Regions from separate parts of the Homo sapiens genome. Here regions 1 and 2 are each linked to region 3. The links are contacts of gene promoters, found by promoter capture Hi-C in human tissues and cell types (Jung and others, 2019). All regions are on one chromosome and are shown on one strand. The core of a region is centred on a gene start or on the middle of the fragment in contact, and the rest is flanking DNA. Distances in the headings are between cores, read along the strand shown.

Region 1 (4,358 bases), core at 419-2,918, 180 kb after region 3:
GATTCCAATACATTTGAAAACTTAGTTGAAATAGTTGGATTTCAGAAAAGCACAATGCACTAGAAGTGAGTCAAGAAGAAATAAAAAGCCTGAATAGCTCCGTAGTTAGTTGCTGACAAGAAGGACTCTTAAGGAGAAAGGCTGGAGAGTGTGGAGGGAGGGAAAGGCCTGGTGTAAAAGACCTTATGAGGAGCTGATTGGGAGGGAGGCAGGCTGGGGCTGGAGGTGCCGGACCCAGCAGAAGCAGAGAGCACAACTTCTCCACTGTGAGCTCTGGGAGAATGAGAGAGGTGGGGCATATAGAGCCAGTGCAGCTTTGAAGATGCTGTAGGTGCCTCCCACCTGAGATCTGTGTCAGGGCCTGGCCTACCCTTAAAATTTATTTGACCAGCACTTAGAATAGTCCAGGCCCAGATAATTAATACATCAACATGGGGTCTTCCTTCTTGTTTTGTTTTTGGAAATGGAAATTGCTCTATTTTTTCCGTGATAATACTCCATCATTACAAATACGTCATGCACAGGTGCCCAGTGTAGACCAAAAATAAAATTCTAAGTCCTCCAACTGACCAAATGGACCCCCTTCTTGGCCAAGGGGATTCCAAAGAAACCTAAAAATAACAAGTTCAGGTTGTGATGAGAAGGAGGGATCAGACATGCCTCATTACACTCTCCTCTCTTGGGAATTCAGGCACAAAACTGATCAGCATTAACATTAAACAGAAATCTTAAGACAGACCGAACAGACTCTTTGTAGAAATAACAGCAAATTCGAACCTGACTCCAGCATAGCATAGCATAACAGTAGGCTCTGAAAGAAATCAAAGGATTTTACCCCAAAGTATATTTCTTTGACATATTTTGAAATGCCCCTGCAAGGCTGTCTCTTGTGGCGGAAATTTACATTCTGTAGAGAATCCTCCTCCCTTTCCAGGTCTTTTTCTGACCTTGAAGAGATTAGCTGAGAGTCTAGCCTAACATCTTTTAAAGGTTGAATAGCAAACATTTGCCATCTACTGCCTCTAAGGGTGGCCACCTATGAGACTTCAACTACATGCTAACTTTGGTCTCCACAAACTCTTATCTTAACTTAAACACCCTTTCTATTGATTCCAGGTCTTTAGATAATAACTCTTCCAACCAATTGTGAATCAGAAAATCTTTAAATCCACCTATGACCTGGAAGCTTCTGTTTCAGGATGTCCCACCTTTCTAGAACAAATATATACGTCATGTGTATTGATTGATGTCTTAAGTCTCCCTAAAATGTATAAAATCAAGCTGTACCCCAACGACTTTGGGCGCAGGTCCTCAGGCCCTCCTGAGGCTGTGTCATGGGTCATAATCCTTAAACCTGGTGAAGTAAATCTCGAATGATGATGACGCCTAAGTACACCACCACGACAGCCTGGATGCCTGGGCTCGAATCCCACCACTGGTTTAGCTCTGTGACTGGGCAAGTCACCTACTCTCTCTGTGCCTCAGTTTCCTCTTCTGTGCTGGGTGGTGGTTACAAAGGCCTGCATCACTGTCCCTCATCCCCGTCATCAGTGCCATGGGTAAGGGCACACGTCATTCTGTGCTTTCTCTGGTCTGCACTGAGGTCTACACTGAGGTCCCTTCTCTGGGAGCTTCTACTAGGAGTCCTTGAGCCACCAGCATCATCTCTGCAAGCCTGGCACACACCTGGGAGGTGTTGCATAGAGACCCGTGGGCCACGGAGACCAACAGGACCCGTGAGATGTGAACAGCCACTGCCCTCTGCACATGACTGCTGTTCCTCAGCCTGGACCCATGGCCTGGCCTCCACCTCACCTCTCCTTGCCAGGCCTGCTCGGCTTAATCTGCCCACCTCTCCTCCAATGGCTGCCTGTTCCTGGTGCATTGCAGGTACGCACCTGGAGGCAGGGGCAGGTGGCCCCTTCCCAGAACACTCTGTGGCCTCTTTCCCCAGGGCCCCTCTCAGACTTCTCAGCTGTCAGATGCTGATAAGAGCCTCCTCTGAGCATACCTGGTGTGCATACCAGGTTCGGGGGAACCCCTGTACTGCAGGAAACTGCCTGCCCCCCGCCAAAGCCTGCTATAAGGCACGTGGCTTTGGAGAGACTCAGAGGCAGGGGTGAGGCGAGGCCAGGACAGTGAAGAGGGAGGCACCACTGAGGTTTGGGGCCAGGAGTGCTTCTGGCAGCTACAGGCACAGACTGCCTGGAGGATGGCAACAGTTGGGTGGGGGCGCGGACTGGGACTCTTCTAGGGTTGGCCAAGCAGTGGTCCAGGCCCCAGCTGTGTGACCCTGGCCACATCACATCTTAGTGACCTGTTAGTGACCTGGGGTTGGCCCAGAAAGAAATCCCCCACAGCAGCCCCGGGGTGGGGCCTGAGCGCTGAGCCCTTCTCTCCAAGCCAGCAGGGGGCGGGCTCTGGCTGAGAGCCTGAACTTCCTAAACCTCCAAGGGGTACAAGCCCTGGCCCATGCCGCCCAAGCCACCAGCCTTGGCTCAGCGGCCACTGGTGACATCAGCATCCTTCAAGGCTGGCCCTACATGGGTGCCGACTACCACCCGCCTCCACCACCTCCAGGCTCAGCCAGGTCCCCTCTTCCGGGAAGCCATCAAGAGTGGGAGGTCCAGTCCTTGCCCTGCACCCTCCCTGCCTACCCTCAAGGTCCTGTCACCAGACTGTGCCCATCCCTCTCCTCCAATAAAGCAGCCCCTCCAGACCTGTCCCCTCCCTCCTCTTCCCTGCCCTGGTTCCCAAGGCACACCCTTGTCCTTCTGGGAGGTTAAGCGTGGCCCGGTGGAGGAACTGGGCAAAGTCCATGAGAAGCTTCCCCTCTAGGGGCAGGGGGTCCCTCAGCTTAGCAGGGTCAGGGAAAGATCAGGAAGGACACGGAGGAGAGGTGGGGGGTGGGAAGAGAAGGAGCACCCCACCCCTGTGCACACTGCAAGGCAGGAGGGGCCACGCCCAACCCGGAACCCCTGGGAGAGGCCGAGGAGGTTGCTGATGGGGGTGTTGCCTCCTTCCTCCCCCCACCTCCCCTTCCTGGGCAGGGTCCATATGGTGTTCCCAGAGAGCCATACTGAGCCCAGCGACACCTCCTCTGCCTTCCTAGGACAGCTGGGAGCCATCCCCCATTTCTCCAGAGGCTGGTCTGGAGGCTACCATGCTGCCCCCCAGCCCCAGGTGGGGTCCTGCTTCTCCCGGGAGCCAGGCAGGGGCACTGCCCTTTGGAGCCAATGTCCTCTGCGACTTGGGGGAAGGGTCTGAATTTGATTATTCTAAGATTCCGTACGTTTAAATACAAGTTTCTAGGCTAGGAAATGCTTTGATTCCGTAATTATAAATTTCAGGACTCTAATGGGAAGGGCTGCCATCTCTCAGTGGGCTCCGGGTGTCTAGAATGAGCCAGGCTGCCCAGGCCTCTGATCCGGCCGCCGGCCCTCTGGGGGAGACCCTGTGGCCCTGGGAGGGAAGGTTCTGGAACACAGCTGACGTGCGTGGTGATGGTTCAGGCTTCCGGTTCTGCCAAGGCCTTATTTGGAGGAGTTTCCGCTGTGCGTGGGGTGGGCGGCTCGCACGTTCACCAGCTATTCGGAGATGTTCCTCCCTCCCGATTATTTTTAGGACCTGACAAGATACTCCAGAGCCCGCTGCTTCCGACACCTTGAGAAGCGCCAAGTCACAGACTGCTGGCCCTGGAAGGGCTCTCAGCTGGCACCTGTGGGGAAACTGAGGCCCAGACGGGGAGGGTCTGAGGCAGGGCCAGGAGTGGGCCTGGGTGGCCGGGCACCCTGGGAGGAGTCTCACCTGTCTGCCGGTCCCTTCAGGGGCTGCTCTGAGCTGAGCCGGCCAGAGACACAGGATACCGGGTGGGCAGAGGTGTGCTGCTTGGGGTCTTCAGAGGGGACTGTACTATCACTGCAGGGGTCTGAGAGCCCCCCGGGGCCACAGGGAGCAGGCTGCAGAGCAGGGCTGTGGTGGAAGCCCACTGGCCCCTCCCACTTATGCACTCCCAGGTCTGGGCCTCCAGGGAGGTGCTCGGCCCTCCCCAGGACAATGCCTCAGAGCCAAGAAGCTTGTGGGGCTCTAGCAGGGCTGGGGAGACGGCGCCGGTCAGAAGAGGCTGCCTGGTCCCTCCTGATCCTGCTCACCTCCCAGGCGGTGAGCAGCTGGAGGGGTGCGGGCAGTGCCTGGGTGAGATACCAGCTGCTCTGTCACCTCAGGGCACTTCAGAACCCCCTGCCAGGGGCCCTCCAGGCCCTGCACTCCAGACACAGGCCCAGGCCTCTCCAGGCCCTGCACTCCCCCTCCAGGCCCTGCCCTCCCCCTCCAGGCCCTGCACTCCCGCTCCAGGCCGA
Region 2 (4,969 bases), core at 541-3,040, 170 kb before region 3:
CCGTCTGGAACTCCCTCCCCAACGTTTTCTGAATATATTTTGGGACTCTGTGGTTTGATACGTATATGTCTACAGTTGTTATATCTTTTGATGAGTCTTCCCTAGAATAAGCCAGAGTTCTCCAGAAATACTGAATCAAGATGAGAGAGGGATTTATTTTACAGAATTAGTTCATGTGAGTGTTTCTGCTGGTAAGTCCAGGATATGCAGGGCAGGCTAGTAGTATGAAGATGCAGAGAAAAGCTAACGTTGAGATCTTGATTCAAAGGCCATCTGGAGGCAGTATTCCTTCTTCCTCAGGAGACCTCCAGCCATCCTCTAAAGGACTTACTAGTTTGGATGAGGCATATCCTCATTCTGGAGTATAATTTACTTTACTCAAAGTCTACTGATTTAAATCTTATTCATATCTAAAAAATTTCTTTTCAGCAACATCTTGACTGGTTTTTGACTTTTATGAAGTGAATTGTGCCCTTCCTCATTTATATGTTGAAGCTCTAGCCCCAAGTGTGACTATCTTTGGAGGTAGAGCCTTTAAGAAGGTAATTAGGATTAAGTGAGGTCACATGTGTGGGGCCTCAATCCAATAGGGCTAGTGTCTTTATTAGAAGAGGAAGAGATACCGGGAGTGCTCATACATGGAGAAAAGGCCACGTGAGCACACAGAGGTAAGACAGCCATCTACGGTCTAAGTAGAGAGGCCCGGGAGAAACAAAGCCTTCTGGCACCACGATCTTGGACTGCTCAGCATCCAGAACTGTGAGAGATAAACGTTTGTCATTTAAGCCACTCAATCCATGGCACTTCGTTACAGCAGCCATAGCAGACTCATGCATTGACTGAAACTGGGTACCATAGCCTAGCCAGATGGAAACCTAAAACCAACCATCACACTCCATTCCTTCTCATCTTGGCTCCCACACACAGCTCCTTAAATCATACTTAACTTTCAAATAAAAATAAAAGCAAGGTCATACTTCACCTAACATGATACAACTGTCCTAATCCTCTCCCCAGAAGAAGCTGCAAAAACCCTTGGTGGTGTTTATTCTTCTTGATATTCTGTACAATAAATACTATGATATAGTCAATGCATCTTATTTTATTTAAAGTTATAAGAGATGAAATAAAAATATATCGTTTTGACGCAGCATTGAATGCAGAAAAAATGCATATCCAAAGAAAGTGTGTATGTATCCCAATAGGAACAAAATGCTTCCCATCCATGATGAAAAAGGCTGGATGTAATAGACCTGCCACAAGGTTGCTGGCTGATCTCCCCAGGGAGCCGTATCATTCTGTGAGCTATCTGTTGGTGTATGCTGCTGGCAGATTGTGCACTCAGCAGGAGTTGTAGCCAGCTTGGCACCATTAGTGCAAAACCACATTGCTGAGCATGCATAACCCCCTTCCCTGTTCCCACATCTGCTTAATTCATGAGCACATTGGGCAATGACAGGCATGGCCGGGGATAGTGACTGGTTTGTGTTCACAAATAGGTCATCCTATCTACTTGATTATTAAAATCCCCCTCTACTGAGATCACGCTTTGGTAAGCATTCACATGGGACACAAATATCCTCACATGTTTTGCCCATTCAGAGAGATCTATCCACATACCTCTTCCTCAAAATCTCTAGTCACCAATTTTACAGTTGTGTTGCTTCCTAGATCCTTACCCCCCAGCGAAATCATTGGCAAAAGCCCATAAATCTGTATATGATTGCATGCATGGCCATTTCTCCCTCCAAGTGTAATGAACAACCAGGCTTAGTGATCAAAGTTCTGCCCACCGGGAGGATTTTCCTCTGCCATTGTCCTTCAGGGACGTCTCGGAAAGTAACTGCATTGCTGTGACTGTCTGTTTTGGGACGATAACGACATCTCTTGCAGAACCATCTCTAAACCTGACTTTAGTTTTCTTTTTCTCTGCCAACGAAATACAGGTAACCACGTAAGGCCATAGGTGCAGGCTGGGGAGAGAAGATGGTGTAGCAGGATTGTGGACAACCTGGACATTAGGGCCACTTCTTCATGTAACCTATTTGTGCTTTCTGGGCCTCCTCGAGGCCAAATGAACATACTCCTTCCATTCATTGATAGAGTGCTGCTGGGTATGTTAAGGCTTAGTGGCTTATGTAACACCCCACGAATCAAAGGCAGTCACGTGGTAACTTAGTGGCCCGTGGTAAAGTGTTTATTCTCTACGAAGACCCAGGAGCAAGCCAAAAGCTCTTTCTCCAAGGAGAGTAGTTATCAGCACAGGTTGATAGAGCTTTGTGCTGCAATTCCAGGGATTTGTGCTGTGATTAACCTACAGGGCCCGACCAAGGCTCCAGAAAGCTTGCCTATCTGCCACTGACACTTCAGTTATTGTTGGATCTGCTAGAAAATGTGGCACAATTAGCAAAGCAGCTTGCATGGTGGCCGGGACCTGTTGCTGAGCCTTCCACTGTCCTGGGTTCCACTCATAAGTAGCAGCACTTTAGGTCAAAAGAAAGTGGGCTGGATCATACTCAGATGAGAAATATGTTACCATGAAAGTCCTAAGAGTCTACTAGGCAATGTACCTCCTTTTTGATTGCAGGAGGGGCCAGATGTTACAGCTTGTAATTCACCTTAGAAGAGATATTTAGGCATGCCCCACACCACCGGATTCCTAGAAATTTCATGGAGGTAGAAGGGCCCTGAATTTCTGTTGGGTTTATTTCCCATCTGTCTTAGTTGATTTTGTGTACTTTAACAAAAACACTAGAGACTGGGTAACTTATAAAGAACAGAAATTTATTTTCCCACAGTTCTGGTGGCTGAGAGTCCAAGATCAGGACATCAGCAGGGTCAGCGTCTGGTGGAGGCTGGGTCTCTGTTTCCAAGCGGCACCTTGAACATTGCATCGTCTGGAGGGGAGGAACAATGTGTCCTCACATGGTAGAAGTCGGAGGGCATAAGGGGGATAAAATCCCCTCTGTCAAGCCCCTTTACAAGGGCACCTAATCCCATTCACGAGGGTGGAGCCCTCACTGCCTAACCATCTCTCAAAGGCCCCATATCTTAATACTATCAAACCGGCAACAACTGGATTTTGGAGGGGACACATTCAAATCACAGCAGCACCCTTTCACACAAATGTCTTTTTTTTTTAATTATTATGCTTTAAGTTCTAGGGTACATGTGCACAATGTGCAGGTTTGTTACATATGTATACATGTGCCATGTTGGTTTGCTGCACCCATTAACTCATCATTTACATTAGGTATATCTCCTAATGCTATCCCTCCCCCTCCCCTCACCCCACTACAGGCCCTGGGGTGTTTTCACACAAATGTCTTAATAATAAGTCTAGAGCAATTGGTACGTCTTGCTCTCTGGGTCTAATTAGCATTATGTTATAAATGTAATCCATCAGTGTGGTATCTTTCAGAAAGGAAAGGTGATCCCTACAAAGTAAATTATGACAAGATGCCTACAAATTAAATTATAATCAGTCTGGAGAGTTAATATATCCCTGAGGAGGACAGTGAAGGTATACTGCTAACCTTGCCAGCTAAAAGCAAACTGCTTCTGGTGTTCGTTACTGGTAGGAATGGAGAAAAGTGCATTTGTCAGCTCAGTAGCTACATACCATGTACCAGGGCATGCGTTCATTTGCTCAAGCAATGAAACCACCTCTGGTACGGTAGCTGCAATTGGAGTGGTGGCTTGGTTAATCTTACAAAAATCTGCTTTTCTCCAAGATTCATCTGTCTTCTGCACAGGCAAAACAGGAAAGTCGAATGGGGATGTGGCAGGAATCTTCACCTGTGCATTTTTCAGGTTCTGACTGGTAGCTCTAATCTCTGCCATCCGTCTAGGAATGTTACGCTTTTGGCTATTTTTCTTGGTAGACACAGTTCTAATGGCTTCTACTTGGTCTTTTCCACTATAATATCTCTCACTGCATAGAAGAGGGAACGAGTGTGGGGATTCTGCCAGTTGTTGACTATGAATATTCCAATTCTGCTTGAATTGTGGCGATAACCACAGGATGGATCCTGCAGGAGGATACTTGGAGGATAATCTGCTTTACTCAAAACCTACTTCTTTAAATGATGGTAAAACCTAAAAATGCCTTTCCACCAAAATCCAGACTAGTGTTTGACCAAAAACTATACCATAGCTTAGTTAATGACATATAAAATTAACCATCAGAACTCTTTTTTTTTTTTTTTTTTTTTTTTGAGACGGAGTCTCGCTCTGTCACCCAGGCTGGAGTGCAGTGGCGTGATCTCGGCTCACTGCAAGCTCTGCCTCCCGGGTTCACGCCATTCTCCTGCCTCAGCCTCCCAAGTAGCTGGGACTACAGGTGCCCGCCACCACGCCCGGCTAATTTTTTTGTATTTTTAGTAGAGACGGGGTTTCACTGTGTTAGCCAGGATGGTCTCGATCTCCTGACCTCGTGATTCACCCGCCTCGGCCTCCCAAAGTGCTGGGATTACAGGCGTGAGCCACCGTGCCCGGCCACAACTCTTTTATCAATATATAATGACCTTCTTTGTCTTTTGTAACTTTTTTACATAAAGACTATTTTGTCTTATATTAGCATAGCCATCCAAGCTCCCTGGTTACTATTCCCATGAAATACCATTTTTCTACCTTTCACTTTCAACCTATTTGCATCTTTGGATATGATGTGAATCTGTTGAAGACCGCATGTAGTGGATCACAATTTTTATCCATTCTGCCTTTTCAATGGAGAGTTTGAACCATTTATATGTAAAGCAATTACTGATAAATAAGACAACTTCTATAATTTTTCTATTTGTTTTCTCTAGGTCTTCTACTGTTTATTTGTATCACAGAAATACAAAGGATTATAAGGCAATAGTGGAATCTATTTCTTTAGCTTGCATTAATCTGATGTTTTGACAAATTTGAGAGAGATTTTCTCCTTGAACACCAGGAGGAAAAGAAAAGAAAGAAAAAAAGAAAA
Region 3 (5,027 bases), core at 1-2,500:
CCCAGGGCCCCAGGTGCCATGCTGCAGGGGCGGTTCTGCCCTGCTGGGAGGAGCGAGCCCTGGGAGGTGCATGGCCCTCCTCTCTCCAACTGCAGAAAGGCCAGAAGGCTTTCAGCTACTCGGCTCAATACCTCAACCCCAAACCCAGGTGACCAGAACCCAGCCCTTCAGCTCTAAGCTGTGTGAAAGGGGGGCTCAGGTCCTCGGGAACTCCTAGGAACCTCTTCTAACTGATCACCTCTCCAACCTATATTCAGGACCAAGGACCAGAGAGGTCAACACTCCAGCCACAGAACAGAGTACCAGGAGAGAGGAGAGGGGTGAACACGAAACCGTGAGGGGCCAGGTTAAGAAATGGCAGGAGGGAAGCACGCTAAGCCCGACTATGAAGAGTTGATTCGGGGACCCTAGGAACCCCCACGAACAAAGGCATCAGTGAGGAATGCCCCCGGTAGAGAGGGAGGGGCGGGAGCGGTAAGAGGCAGGACTCCAGCAGTATCCGAAAGAGGTGCAGGCAGCGGGCCTTCCCTAGGGGAGGGGGCCAGGGACTAGGAGGAGCCCCCGGAGGTCCCACAAAGGCCGTGCTCCGGGGCCAGGGGCGGGGGCCGCTCACCCTGCGCTGGCACAGGTGCTGCACGACGCGCTCGGGTGAGGTGCCCAGCAGGTGCTGCCGGAAGCGCAGCAGCGCGCACACGAAGCCGTCCCGCAGGCTGACAAAGCGCGCCTCCAGGTAGAACGCGCGGTCGTCCCAGCCCAGCAGGCGGGTGCGCACCTCGAAGGGCTCCAGCAGGCGCAGCGAGCGGCGGTGGCGCGCGCACGAGGCCGCCAGCACCGTGTGCGCCCGCAACTCCCTCAGCGCCCCGAGCACCCCGCAGCGGGTCAGGTGCGCGACGCGCGCAAAGTCGGCCTCGCGCAGGTAGCGCGCGTTGTTCATGTGCAGCAGCAGGTCCAAGTCCGAGGGCAGCACGCGGCCCGGGAAGCGCTGCTCAGCTAGCAGGTCACGGACGCGCGGCTGCAGCAGGCGCGCGCGCAGCACGGCGCACGGAAGGCGCACCAGGTACCAGACGTCCAGCAGCGCAAAGACAGCGAGCCCCAGGGCCAGCAACGCCACCAGCAGCCCCAGCATAGCGGCGGCGGCGGGCGCGGGGTCCTGCGGAGTCCGTGGCGCCGGTGCCGGTGTCCGCGGCGCTGGTTACGGTGCCCGCCAGGCCTCCTGGGAACTCACGAGCGCAGCGCGCCCGGAGCGAACCACAGCGCGAGGGCGGCCGAGGGGGAGGGGCCCGGAGCCCCGCCCACCGTGGCGCGACCTTCTCAGCGCCCTACGTGGTCCGTCCCGCCGTCCAGGCCCGCGCCACTTTCGCGTTCCCTGGGGCGGGGCGGGCGGCGCGCTGAGCGCCACAGCGGCACCTGGCGGCCGTGCGCGGCGCTGCAGGCGCGAGGGTGCACGCGCGCCCCGGCGTCTCCGCCTTCCCAGCAGCGCGAGACCCTCGCCAGGCTCTGAAGACGCGGCCTGGCCCTGGCCGTTCGGCCCTTCGTCTGAGCGCAAAGGCTCCAGCACCTCCGCGGCCGAAGCCGCGGGACTTTTCGTGGAAAATGGGACCCAGCCCGATCGCCAGCGGCGCTGCAGCGGACTCTGCGGGAACCTAGCTTCTGCTCCAGGACCTCCAGGGCCACCCCAGCTCGCAGGGCGTTCGCAGCGGCTCAGGGCGAATCACGCTCATGGTCCCCGTGCGCATTTTCAGCCCCAGCCGGTACCTCCTTACTCGCCCTCACGACATTCATTCCACCCCCTAAAGGTCCTGCCAACCCCAGGCTCTTCCCGAGCATTCCCGCCCTTCCTCCCTTTTGAAACCGGAGCAAATCACGGCCGGGCGGAAGCGGGGGAGCCCGGGTGAGAGTCAGTGACTCAGCTGCGGACTCCAAGTGTCGCCGGAGGCCCTGGGGCGCAGGCCCAGCGGGCTGTCGCACAGCTCGGCTGTCCTGTGCCCCTTCCTGACGAGGCTGGGGAGGAAAGGCGGCCCAGAGAAGGCCGGACCAGCTCTCCCCGTCAGCCCCAGGCTCTCGAATGACAGCGGATGCCAGCGACCGGGGATGGGGTCCCGGAATTGCTGGGTTAAACAAGCTCCGGATTCAGGCCTGGGCCTGGGCTGGGGTTCCAGGGTTCTGGACCGCCCTCAAAGAAGGAGCTCCCTGGGGCGGCACCTGGCTCTGCTTGATAGCCCCAGGGACAGGGAGCTCACTACCTATCAGGGCAGCTCCCCCAGTGCCGAGACCAGCTCGGTCCTGGAGACCCTAACCCAGCGGTGCTAGAGGAATTAAAGATACACACAGAAATATAGAGGTGTGGAGTGGGAAATCAGGCGTCTCACAGCCTTCAGAGCTGAGAGCCTCCAACAGAGATTTACCCACGTGTTTATTCACAGCAAGCCAGTGATAAGCACAGTTTCTACAGATTATAGATTAAAAGTACCCCTTAGGGAAACAAAGGGATGGGCCAAAATAAAGGGGTGGGTTTGGCTAGTTATCTGCAGCAGGGGCATGTCCTTAAGTCACAGATGGCTCATGCTATTGTTTGTGGTTTAAGAACGCCTTTAAGCGGTTTTCTGCCCTGGGTGGGCCAGGTGTTCCTTGCCCTTATTCCGGTAAACCCACAACCTCCCAGCGTGGGCATCATGGCCATCATGAACATGTTACAGTGCTGCAGAGATTTTGTTTATGGCCAGATTTTGGGGGCCTATTCCCAACACCCTAGCATTGCTCACACTTGTCCCTGAAGTGTCACCTTGTCGTAGCTGGGCTCTGAGCCCTCTGCCCCAGGGAGGGGTGGCCTTTTGGGCTGAAGGGACTGAGGACATAGCCGTTGAGCCTGTTGGCCATTGCTCAAAGAATGCAGCCTCCTGGTCACCCATGTTGTCCCCTTGCCAACAAAAAGAGTGAAACACTGTGCAATGTTTGAAGAGATTTATTCTGAGCCAAATCTAAGTGACTGTGGCCTGTCACACGGCCTCAGAAGATCCTGAGAACTTGTACCCAGAGTGGTCAGCCTGCAACTGGGTTTTACAAATTTTAGGGAGACATAAGACATCAATGAATACTTGCAGGATGGACATTGGTTTGGTCCAGAAAGGTGGGGACAACTGGAAGTGACAGAGGGACTTCTAGGTCATAGGCAGATTCAAAGATTTTCTGATTGGCAATTGATTGAAAGAGTTAAGTTGACCGGGCATGGTGGGCCATTTCTATAATCCTTGCCATGGGGAGGCTGAGGACCATTTGAGCCCAGGAGTTAGATACCAGCTTGGGCAACATAGAGAGACCTCACTTCTCCAAAAAAAAAAAAAAAAAAAAAGTTATTTTTTAAAGACTTAGCATTAATAGAAAGGAATGTCTGGTTAAGATAAGGGGTCGTGGAGACCAGTGTTTCATGATCAGATGAAGCCTCCAGGTAGCAGGCTTCAGAGAGAATAGATTGTAAATGTTTCTCATCAGACTTAAAGAGTCTGTTCTCTCAGTCTTTAAGGGGTGTGTTGATGTTACTGCTGGTCAGCTGGGCCTGAAATCCAAAGGGAGGAGGGTACAGTGAGGCATATCCAACACCCATTTCCTGTCGTGGTCTGAACTAGTGTTTCAGGTTAACCCTGGACTGCCCTTGGTCAAGAGCAGGGGTGCATTCAGATGGTGGGGGTGCTTAGAATTTCATTTTTGGTTTACACCACTGTGTCCTCTCCTGCCAGGGGAGGGACCCAGAGCTGGAGGCTTAGCCCTGGAGATACCGGTGAAGATGGATGAATGAGAAACCAGTTGGAGCTTCCAAGGTCTCTACCCACCCTCCAGACCTCCTCTGCTCCTGCCCCTGCCCATTCATTCCCAACTTCTGCTCTCCCAGCTCCCCTCCCACCCACATGCTGTTCCCTCCTCTTCCATCTTCCGCTTCCTGGGCCCAGAGACTGGGCAAGATCCCCAGGGCTCTCCTTGCACAGCGAACCTCTCCCAGGGTGCATAGCCTTGCTGCAATCTTACACAGGGAATACATAAGCAAGGAATACTTCTGTCCCTCTTGGACTCTGAAGCCAGAAGGCCAGGGCCTGGTTGGCCTCCTAACTGCTGTGTCCCAGGGCCAGAGCAGTGCCAGACACCCAGCAGTCTTAGCACCCACGAAAGCTGGAGGGACCCACACCTTCCCCATCACTCAGTTGCATCAGTCTAACGCAATGGATTTGGGCAGCTTGTGGTGGTTCACTGGCAGTTTATTGGGGGACTTGAAGGAGTCAAGGTCAAGTGGGGGACTTCTGGGTGCCAGACCTGGCCCTTCCTTGGCCTGGGCTTGGGGTGTCCAAGCCCACAGAGCCATGCAGGGGGAAAGAGCTAGGCAAGCAGGGTGGTTGAGGAGGTCATTAGCGTGGCCTCGAGGGAAAACAATTCCAAGAGGAGCCCAAATTCGAATGTCCCCTGGTGTCATTGAGAATGGAGAGATTTAGGTTATGAATTGTGCAGTTGGTGGGTAGCAAGCCAGGGTCCTGAAGATAGTCTGCATATCCCCTGGTGTCATTGAGAATGGAGAGGTTCAGGTTATGAATTGTGCAGTTGGGGGTATCAAGCCAGGGTCCTGAAGATAGTCTGCATATCCCCTGGTATATATCATTTATATAAGGATGTTACTTAACTATTGCTGTCTTCCAGAGGCAGCTTCTTGAACAAATACTTGAGGTCCTCTATAGGTTTACGGGAGTAGACTGTTTTCTCCAAGCAGGCCTGTCGTCCATCAGGAGAAGCAAAAGGTTTTATTCTAGAGACAAGTCCTTCCAACTGTACAGCTGATGGAGTAGCCAAGGAAACCTGGTATGGACCCTTTCATTTCTCAGTGAACTAAGCCTCTGGGCTTCCTTTTCGCCATGTCTTGAGTAGGACCTGTGCACCTGGGCTAGCAGGGAAATGATCTGAAACTCCATGACCCGGCTGAGGTCACATCTTATTATCATATTGCAAGATGGCCTGCTGAACTTGTCCCAAGTTAATGATGTATTTTA

Evidence for each region. Contacts are between HindIII fragments. The study calls those that stand out against the background at their distance.
Region 1: a contact is called between a fragment that was not itself captured here and the fragment with the promoter of THEM6 in region 3, in 1 of the 25 tissues and cell types used here (dorsolateral prefrontal cortex).
Region 2: a fragment that was not itself captured here is called in contact with the fragment with the promoter of THEM6 in region 3 in 2 of the 25 tissues and cell types used here (H1 embryonic stem cells and dorsolateral prefrontal cortex).

Annotation. Positions count from the first base shown.
Region 1 is chr8:142,549,356-142,553,713 of GRCh38, reverse strand. No RefSeq gene overlaps it. Among named protein-coding and RNA genes, the nearest start is that of ARC, 63 kb to the left of the region's middle. The HindIII fragment of the contact is 3,567 bases long and covers 1-3,451 here.
Region 2 is chr8:142,898,743-142,903,711 of GRCh38, reverse strand. No RefSeq gene overlaps it. Among named protein-coding and RNA genes, the nearest start is that of CYP11B2, 17 kb to the left of the region's middle. The HindIII fragment of the contact is 4,499 bases long and covers 1-4,039 here.
Region 3 is chr8:142,723,446-142,728,472 of GRCh38, reverse strand. THEM6 (thioesterase superfamily member 6) reads right to left here and starts at 1,250. Exons shown (of 2, transcript NM_016647.3): 1 at 614-1,250. The coding sequence starts at 1,126. LNCOC1 (lncRNA associated with ovarian cancer 1) reads left to right here and starts at 1,500. Exons shown (of 3, transcript NR_038925.1): 1 at 1,500-1,751. RefSeq lists silencers at 505-754, 1,055-1,494 and an enhancer at 1,525-1,744. The HindIII fragment of the contact is 14,450 bases long and covers 1-5,027 here.